Regions from separate parts of the Homo sapiens genome. Here all the other regions are linked to region 2. The links are contacts of gene promoters, found by promoter capture Hi-C in blood cells and fetal thymus (Javierre and others, 2016). All regions are on one chromosome and are shown on one strand. Each heading gives the region's core, a stretch centred on a gene start or on the middle of the fragment in contact. The rest is flanking DNA. Distances are from core to core; before and after follow the strand shown.

Region 1 (3,035 bases), core at 480-2,979, 160 kb before region 2:
GAATGGAAAGGCTGATTGGAAGCTCTCTTTTGTAACTGGGCCACCTTGACAGGCTGGCTCCTCTTTTAGGTATGTGGGTGTGGAATCTGACATTAGCCTGGAAATTCAAAATGCCATAATAAAAAAAGGGTTTAATCTATGTGCAAATATCTGCACTTGAAGCCCTAGTTCTTCCTTGGAAATGTATTCAATTTTTCTAGAAAAGAATTCTCAATATGAAGGTTTTCGATGGTTCTGTATGCAGTGGCAAGGAAGGCACTGGAAAGCATCAATGATGCAGCTATATGGCAGACAGAATTTTAATGATGCCTCTGGTTTTTGCACAATGTCTCGCTCCTGCTATCCAAAGCTAGGAATCCGATAGCCAAGGCCCTCCAGGCTTCTAGCAGCCTGATCAGCCACCACATTCCCAGAGGCCCATGACATGCATATTCTGAGCATCCTTTACTCCACTTCATCTACAATATGCTTTTTCTGATTGTCCACAACCAAGAAATAGGATGAAATCTCCAGTCTGCTCTTGGCCATCCTCATTCCCTTCTCTTTAGTGTTATGATATTTTTTTCTCTATGGAGTCTCAGAAGAAAGGGAAGTAGTGAACACATTATTTAAAAAATCAAATCAAAACCTTATACATACTTTTTTTTTATCATACAAGAACCTCTGGGTCTATTTCAGAAGCTTAATATTTGGTGCCCAAAATATTTTATCCTGGACAATCTTATATTGCACAAATCTTAATTCAGAGTCATAAAAGTCCCCCAAACTGGCTTTTTAAGCTGGTGCATAAACCCCATTGATGATAGTCTTATCCTATTTTTGTTTATGCTCATGTGCTTTCTCACCTGTTAAGAAACTTGCTAATTCTATTATGCGACTCTCTGGCAAAGCTTATCAAAGCTTCAAATTAATTAAGCAGTGGCAGCTCCCAATTTCCTTTTCTTACTGGCAAAAATTTGTTTCACAGAAAATGTTTAGAAAGCTTAAGTTGGTAACAGCTGATTGTTGACCTGGAAATAAGAGGTCTTCATCAATATGTTAAGCGGTCAGGATACTTAAAGAAAAACATCTATGGAGACTTCTTAGCATGCACTCTAGGCAAATACTTGCTGTCCTTCACCATTATTTCAGGATTTTTTTTTCCTAAAAGCATAAGAACAAACACATAAATGATAAAAGCAGAATTTAGGCCAACTCTAGCTTGCCTGCCAAGTAGGTAAGATGCGGTGGCAGAATACTGGCTACACTTGTGCCTGTATCACCATGGAGACCCTACTCTGACCATCAAATAATGGGATTCTAATGAGGAATGCTGCTGAACAACAAGCATGGCTGAGCACAAAGACAGAGCTGCTGGCATTGGAACATGGGAGTGAGCAAGAAAGGGGCAGCCCAAGGGAGAAGAAAAGGTGACACTGAACGTAGGTGTCGTGATGAGAAGAAAATAGGTTGCAGGTGGTGACTGCCTGGAGACCAGCCCAAATCACCTTCCACCTTTACGTGGAATCCAGGCTCAAAGCAGGAGGGACAAACTTGAGTGGGATAAATGTGACATGAAATGAGTCAGTTTGCCCAGAATATGTTTTTACCTATGAGGTGGATTGCATGGGATGGGGGAGGGGGGCTTGTAGGCAGGAGGGGCTGGGTCATGGAAATTAAATGAATTACTTTCCTAATGTGCATTGTTGTTTTTTTTTTTTTTTACACAATTGGTTCACAAAATAAAAAATTAATCCTTACTTTATGTATGAGCTCATCTGGGATTTTGAAATAGCCTCCTGATGCACATCTGTACTTAGACCAATTCTAAATCCTGGACTAGAATTTTGAGTAAAATCATCTCCAGGCAAGAGCCAGGACCAGTGAGAGCTGAGAGGCTCAAGAAGTGATGAGAATAGATTAGATGAACCCTCACTGCTGATATCAGAATTAGAAATGAATTATAACAAGGCTGAGTTTCAAAGAGAAATGCCCAGGATGGGGTCAGGATGCACCTTTCTCTCTCTCCATACAAGCTCTCCCTGAGGGGTCTCCTCTATTCTAAGTGCTCAGGTCCCCTCACAAGCCAATGGCTTCCAAACTTGTGTTTATCTCATCTCTTGCTCTTGATCTCCAGGCCTCTCTACCCACCAACAATCCCTTCTCCTATATATATATTTTTGGGCCCAAATTTTTGCTAAGTGAATTGTTCTGGCTCTAACTATCCTCTCCTTTGCAAATGAGAGGTCTTTCATTCTAAGAATTATCATGGGCCGGCATTTGTAGCTGACATTGAAAATAAACCTCCCCCCTCCCCAGAACTGCCTATAAGATGTGATTTTCTGAAAACCTGCAGGCCTTGGGAATGCAAATCAGAGAAAGATCCAATTGTCACCAACACTTACCAGGGAACACTGCCATTTGCATCTGCACTCCAGATCCCCGGTGGCTGCAAATATATCAGTGGCTCATTCAAACCAGAGCCCAGGCACAGATTGAAAGCTTGAGTGGAGGTGGATTTGGAAAGAGGAATGAAAAGGACACAGCTCTGGAAACTGGGGGGAATGAGCCCGTGTCACTGCCAAGATGGAAGGGTAGGCAGTGCATTCCCACATGTCTGACCCTAAGATTTCAAATTTCATTAGTAGCATCTCCTTTAGCTCAACCTAACTACAAGGAGAACGAGAAATACAAGGAAGTCCCTGCCATGTTTGGGGAGCATTTTTATCTCTGCCCCAGCATCTCCCATTTTCTGCTGAACTAAAAACCTTTCTCTTTCTCAAGATATGTGGAAAAGGAAAAGGAGAAATAAGGAATATCTCTTACTTTAGTCCTTCATTTTTCTAGCTTCCCAACTCTCCAACTCAGACTCTCGCTCTGACCCCCAAGTCAAATATGGCAGGTAGCACTGCCTTCTTTAGGGGTCTTCCAGATTATGCTACCACCACCACCACCACCACCACTCCACTTTTCAGAAACATGTGGGTTTCCACTTGTCAAAAATAAAACAACCCTCTTGATCATTATAGACTTGGGGTCTTGGCTAGAGAACAAAT
Region 2 (3,378 bases), core at 853-3,352:
GGACTTCCTGGGAATCGAGGCAGGAGTTGGATAGCAAGGAGTTGGGTGTGTCCTCCCAAAAACAGTGAGCAGAGAAACCAAGGGTGAGCTGGAGGCATTTCACCTGACTGTGGGGAGAGAAGTGATGGATTAAAGTGGAGGGAAGCTGGTGAGCAGGAGGAGAAAAGAGAACTTTTTAAAATAGGAATTAAGAAAATAGGAATTCAAGTCAGAGAGAAGACAGAAGATGGTGGGAGGGGTGGACAGGGTCTGAGGGCTGAGTGGGAAACTGCAGGACTCAGGGGAAGGAGGGTCCTTGTTACAGCCGGGCCAGAGCTCCTGGTGGAGGGAGACTCCTGGACTGAGGGCAGGATGGTGCCGCGGAGAGTCTTGCGGAAGAACTGCTTGGGTCTTCATAAAGGGACTATTCAAGCAGCAGATGGCTGCCTGAACCATCTGACCGTACAGGCCCTTTATACTCATGAGGTTTTACAATTGTGAGTTTAGGGGTCGGCTCCATTTTTGGGAAGGGGAGCATTGAATGGGGCTGGGCACGAGGAGGCATTCAGCACATCAGCAGGGCTGGGGGAAAGGAAGGGGCTTGTGGTGAACCGGACTGAGGAGGGAGGACCCTCCAAAGTTGGCCTGCTGTCCCCTGGGGCTCCGCGGGGTGGTGACTGGGGGAAAAGAGGAAAGATGGCCCTCCGGACACAGCAGGAATGGGGCAGGTGGAGAAGAGCCTGAGGAGAAGGGAGACAGGGGAGGGCGGGGTGCGGGGGGAGAGGGGAGCGGGAGGTGGCCTTTGTGAGAGACGGAGAGCTGAGTCAGAGCTGTGGGGGGCAGCGGGGAGGGAGAGAGCCGCGGAGAAGGGGTGAAAGCAGAGGAGGAGGGGGTATCCATGGAAATAAACCGGGTCTCAGGGAAATCAGGCTTCTGGAGAGTGAGTTTGTTTGTAATAATAATACGAATTATTCTCTCAGCCTGAGGTCACCGGGAGGTGTAGGCGGGAGAAATTGGGAGTTGGAAAGGGGAAGAATGGGGGAGGGGGTGGGAGAGGGCCGGATGAATTCGCTGAGCGGCGAGAGTGGAGTGGGTGCCTGGGTGGGGGTCAGGGGCGGTAGCCAGGCAGAAGCTGGAGGGAGAAGATGGATTAGGAGGCGCCTCTCTTCCCTCCCCGCGTCAAAGGTAAATAAAGAGCCGGCCCCGCCCCGCCGGCCCCCGCTGACAGGTGCAGGCGGGTCCCCGGCCGCCGAGGCAGGGCCGGCCCCACCCTCCCGGGCCGCGGGCTCCCGACCCCTCCCAGCGCCTCGAAGCCCCCATCTCCTCCCCGCGTCCCCCAGCCCCTTCCCTCCACCCGGCCCTGGCCCTGTCCCTCCGGGCGTGGAACCCGGGCTCATCCCGCCCCCGCCCCAGAGGGAAAACGCACGTGAACAAAGCGAATCGGAGGAGGCAGGAACGACAGTAAAAGGCAACGGAGAGGGAGAGAGAGATGGGGCAAAGCACCCGAGCCAGATGGAGGCGGCGGCGGGGGGTGGCGTGGGGGGCGTGCGAAAGAAACTCGGGGCTGGCGCGGAGGCCGAGGGTCCTTCGCGGGGGGCTGCTCCGGAGTGGGGGATGCGAGGAGGCGCTGGGGACGGCGGAGCAGAGGCGGATGGCCTGGAGGGGCAGGGATGAGGGGACCGAGCGTCGGGCCGAGAGGCAGAGGAGAGGAGGGCGATGGAGAGGATGGAGAGGACCGCGCCTGCGGGAGGGCGACGGGGAGAAGGAAGCGAGCCGAGCGGGATGGCAGCCCCGGAGGCGCAAGACGAGAGCGGGCAGGAAGGAGGGACAGAGGGACCGCGGGCGGACGGAAGGAAAGTGAAGGAGCTAGCAGGGCAAGGCGGGTGCGGAGCGGGGCGCCCGGAGGCGCGAGGAGAGGGATGGGGGAGGGGGTCGGAGGGCGGCCCGGGGGGCCCAGCCCTGCCCCCGCCCGGCCGCGGTACCCACCCACAGTCCGGGAGCCGATGCAGCCCATGGCTCCGGGGGCCGCAGAGCCGGGCCCTCACCGACTCGGGGCGCGCGCCGGGGGGAGCACCGGGAGCCGCGCCGCCGCCCCAGCCGCTCTGCAGCGCCGCGGCTGTCTCCGCTCGGCTCCGCTCCCCCCTCCCCTCTCCATCCCTCCCCACGGCAGCTCCGTCGCCGCCGCCGCCGCCGCCGCCGCCGCCGCCTGGCTCCCCCGCCCCGGCTCGGCTCGCCGCGGCCGGGGAGGGGGCGGCCCGGGGATTGGCTGCGCCCCGCGCCTCCCCGCCCCTGCTCCGGCCGTGCCGGGGCGCTCCCTCGGGGATCTGGGGCCGCCGTCGCCGCCCCCCTCCTCCCGCCCGTGCCAAGCCCCGCTCCCGGGGCTCTCTCCTGGAGAACCCCGGCTTGGGTTTCAGGAGCCGAGGCACGAACCCAGGGCCTACCCCGAGGTTCTGGTTGATGGATTTTGCGGGCCGGGGTCAGGGGATGCCCTGAGAGAAAGTGGGGTGGTGGTGAGAATAAAGCCAGGCCCAAGGGCCTTTGGCCACCAAATTCCGCAAACACTTGTTTTCCTCCTGGGGCCGCATCTGGGACACACACAGGAACGTGATTGGACACAGCTTTGGGCTCTGTTGTTTCGAGTGCGCTATTTTGTCCATCCAAACAGAAGGTGAAGTCTTTGCAAGTGAATCGTGTAGTCCACTTCTCTGTGCTCGCTGGACATTCAGGGGTGGGTGTGGGGATGTGCAGATAGTTGACCTCCAGGCCTGGTTGGGGATTGGAGAATATGAGGAGGACAGTTCATTCGCAGTAGACTAACAACAATGTCAGGACCCGAGGCTGGCTAGGAGACATCGTCTTGAATCCAGTTTAACTTTTCTGAGACGTGATCTTCTCGGACAAATGAAAGCAAGGCGGTCCCGAAGCAGCAAAGAGAGAGAAAGATTGGCCTCTGGCTAGTGGGACTGGGCCAGGTAGATACCTCAAGCCCCATGGGGAGGAGATGAAGGTCTAAGTTGCAAGGGTTAAATGAGCACTGTGGTTACAGCAGGTAAGAAGTGGAGTCCAGAAAAGATGCATGAGAAAGGGCAAGGAGACCCTTTTGTCTAAGGTGTACCCAGAAAGCCCAAAGTGTGAGAGAGTGGGCAGGTGGGCATTCACAGAAGCAAGTGCCCATCCAGGCTCTGACTGCACCTCGCCCACTTTTAGGTCTCTCCGAGGTTGCAGAGAGAGAAGGCAATGGGCCAGGGGTCCCTGGTGTGGGCTCCTAACAGGGAGGCTAAGTCTTATGGATGCAACTTTCTAACCTTTAGATTATGAATGGAGAGCTACATCCCATGGGGTGGCAGATGAAGATGTGCAAGAAGAAGACACTAACAACTGAATTGCAGATTGAGGAGA
Region 3 (3,098 bases), core at 468-2,967, 140 kb after region 2:
CTGTGTAGCGGAGGTTGTTTCATCTACTTAGCCCACCAAGACCCCTCTGGAGGCTGCATAGCCTGGTGGCTAAAGGTGTAGGTTCTAGACCCTGAATGTGCAAGTCTGAATCTTTGTTCCTACCTTGTGCCTTTGCAGCAATGGGCAAGTTAAAGTCTCTACTGCCTCAGTTTCTTCTGATGTAAAATGGGGAGGATGGTAATACCTGACTCACGGGCTTTTGTGAAGATCAAATGAGACGATCCATGCAGAGCACTTAGCACAGTGTCCAGTCCATGATAAGCCCTCAGTGAATAGTAGATATTTTTATGTTGAAATGCTTTGAAGAGTTTAGAAGAAAGGTGCCAGTCAAGCCAATGCTAGAAACAGAGATTAATTTTTATTTCCTCACACATTTACTTCTATCCTGCTGTGCCTTGTAAACTGAACATTTTCATATTTTTCTCCTTCGCAAAATACAAACTGTTCCAACAGTTCTCTGCCTCAAACCTGAAGTGTTTTATGCCATCCTTGGTAGGTTGTGAGAGATATTTTGGAAGCACCTTTTTAGAAGCTCTGTTAATTGAAACTATTCCTCAAGCTTTGCAATAAATGCAGAAAGTTTCAGTGCTCCCTCACATCCTGGAAGCTGACTGTAGCCTGTAGAGGGCTACTGGGTTAAGCCCTCTACAAAGGTGACGATAGAGTCCAGTTCAGGAAGCCATCTTCTGGCCAGGTAGGGTGGACATGGGCACACTGGAGCCAGAGGGAGGTCAAAAGAGGGTAGTGAGTGTAGGGGCCAGAAATGATTATCCAAGAGTAAATTGAGGTCCAGAAGCTGTTCAGAGGCACAGGAGCCCTTTTTCATCTTGTCTTTGTTCCTGTTGATAGTGAATATACAGCAGCTGTCTTGAAGATGGAGAAGGAAAGTGAGGGGTGCTGACTGAGAAACTGCCTTACAGACCTCCTTCCTCTCTCCATCTACCTCTAAGTCAAATGAAAAGGAATCCAGTGAAATTCTCCCAGCTCCCTTAATAAAGATGACTCTCCAGCTCTCATCTTGCTAGGAGAATGTTCCACTTCTTTTTCCACAAATAAAAATAATTTATGTTTGTACAGTGCTTAATTTCAAGAAATTTCATAGATATTATTTCATTTGAGGAAGGAGAGAATTGGGGCTGGGTTAGGCCACACAAGCCTGGCTCAATGTCAAGTATTTCCTAAATGGAGACAGAGGTCTGACTCTAAGCTTTATATATGACACTGGTTAGATTTTAGAGTTTTTTAGTTTTTTGAGTTGTGGTGGGAGAAGCACTATAATCATTATTAATATAGCCACCATGAAACATAGATTTAAAATTCTGCTCTGCTAGTTTGAGGTAGCATTAAGATCAGTAGAATGATTTTGAAGGTTTCTGCTTATCAAAGAAATGTTTAAAGAAGAAGAAGTGTGGGTGTGGTGGCTCACACCTGTAATCCCAGCACTTTGGGAGGCTGAGGCGGGTGTATCACCTGAGGTCAGGAGTTTGAGACCAGCCTGGCCAACGTGGTGAAATCCCCTCTCTACTAAAAGTACAAACATTAGCCAGGTGTGGTGGCACACACCTGTAGTCCTAGCTGATTGGGAGCCTGAGGCAGGAGGATCACTTGAACCCAAGAGGCAGAGTTTGCAGTGAGCTGAGATCACACCACTGTACCCGAGCCTGGTTGACAGAGTGAGACTCCATCTAAAAAAAAAAAGAAAAGAAAATATCTATTTCAAACATCTTTAACAAACAATTTTAAGGTATCTAGGCTGTCTAAACATTTATTCTAAAGTTCTCTCTACGAAAAACAATCTAGACTTTATAAAAGATTAGTAAATCTAACCTATTATAAAAATAGTTAAGTTTATAATACCAAGTTAAATTTTTTAGGATCTATATGTGCTTTTTATGATTGGGACACTTGCATTAAGAATAGTACTGCTTATACAGATTTTATTAAAGAATTAGACTTATTTCACTACTTTATTTCAAAGATTGATAATACTTTTATTTTGGTGTATTTTTGGCCATATAGAGGATTAATTTAATGGTAAGTTTTAGTCAGAAAACCAACCTTCTATCATATTGTCCTTATAGGAAAATACAATGAACGATATCATGTTGTACTCTTTGATAACATAGTTTTCTAGGAATATTCTGGGTAAAATGGTTTAAATAATTTGGGAGTAAATTTCTTTTGCTGAAGCTTTTAATTTCAACTACTCATGCAGCAAAATATTTTGCCAAAGTCCAATGACTTTCAAGTTTAATAGTGGCATTAGGTAAAGCTGAAAATAGGCCTATATTTTGTGAACATAATCACATTATGACTGAACCTCCTTAGACTTCCTTCCCTAGCCTTGTGGCCAGGATATAATTGCATCCGTCATGGGCCATAAGTCCCAGTGCAATGACGGGTAATTGATTTTGATGTGGAGGTTGAGGGGTGAGAGAGGGAGGGCTCCTCCCACACCACATTGCAAGCCTTCCTAAAAATCACCCAGACATCTTTGATGTCCTGAAATCCCTTTCCCCATTACAGCTGACTCCTTCCCAGTAACTCAGGCTTCCTCACTTAGATGCCTATGCATGATTCTGCTCCTGGACAGGGTCATGTGTTGAGGCAGGCATCTTATGGAGAGAAGGATGTGATGGAGCACTGAGCTTCTCAGGGCTGAGGGTCTGGTATCTGACTCCCCAACATCATATATTGTTGGTCACTAGCAGCGGAACTGTGGCGTCTTCACTAGAGCAGTCCCTCTATATGCTGTGCCTTGGTTCCTGGCTTCATCTTTGCCCAACTCTATTGTCCTCCTACAGATTCTGTGGGTCTTTCCCTAATAAATGATTTTTTCTGTTTAAATAACTCTGAAGGGATGTAAGTTTTAAAAAAGCCACCAAAATTCTCATTGACCCTGTTAACTTCAACTTTACTTCTAAGCCAGTTCTTAGCCTTTCCAAGTACTTTACTAGTCTTCCCATCTCAGAATTTCCCAATGTACAGGAAAGAGAGCCAGAGGGCAGTTCAGCAAAACAAAATCACAGCCACCTCGGGATCCCCAATTTGTCCAGGGACAACAACAGTAGCAAAGA

What was found. The method cuts DNA at HindIII sites, captures the fragments that hold promoters and counts their contacts. A CHiCAGO score of 5 or more calls a contact.
Region 1: a fragment that was not itself captured here is called in contact with the fragment with the promoter of FAM131B in region 2 in 1 of 17 cell types (neutrophils); the score reaches 5.8 in neutrophils.
Region 3: a contact is called between a fragment that was not itself captured here and the fragment with the promoter of FAM131B in region 2, in 1 of 17 cell types (M0 macrophages). The highest score is 7.2, in M0 macrophages.

The regions. Positions count from the first base shown.
Region 1 is chr7:143,202,331-143,205,365 of GRCh38, forward strand. It overlaps LOC124901764 (a long non-coding RNA gene), which reads right to left. Exons shown (of 2, transcript XR_007060567.1): 1 at 846-3,035; 2 at 1-97. Among named protein-coding and RNA genes, the nearest start is that of TAS2R40, 18 kb to the right of the region's middle. The HindIII fragment of the contact is 1,499 bases long and covers 981-2,479 here.
Region 2 is chr7:143,360,611-143,363,988 of GRCh38, forward strand. It overlaps FAM131B (family with sequence similarity 131 member B), which reads right to left and starts at 2,103. Exons shown (of 7, transcript NM_001031690.3): 1 at 1,966-2,103. The coding sequence starts at 1,993. FAM131B-AS1 (FAM131B antisense RNA 1) reads left to right here and starts at 1,096. Exons shown (of 3, transcript NR_183342.1): 1 at 1,096-1,447; 2 at 2,580-2,647; 3 at 3,291-3,378. The HindIII fragment of the contact is 5,612 bases long and covers 1-3,378 here.
Region 3 is chr7:143,501,026-143,504,123 of GRCh38, forward strand. The region is part of intron 2 of EPHA1-AS1 (EPHA1 antisense RNA 1); the gene reads left to right. Among named protein-coding and RNA genes, the nearest start is that of TAS2R41, 25 kb to the left of the region's middle. The HindIII fragment of the contact is 983 bases long and covers 1,227-2,209 here.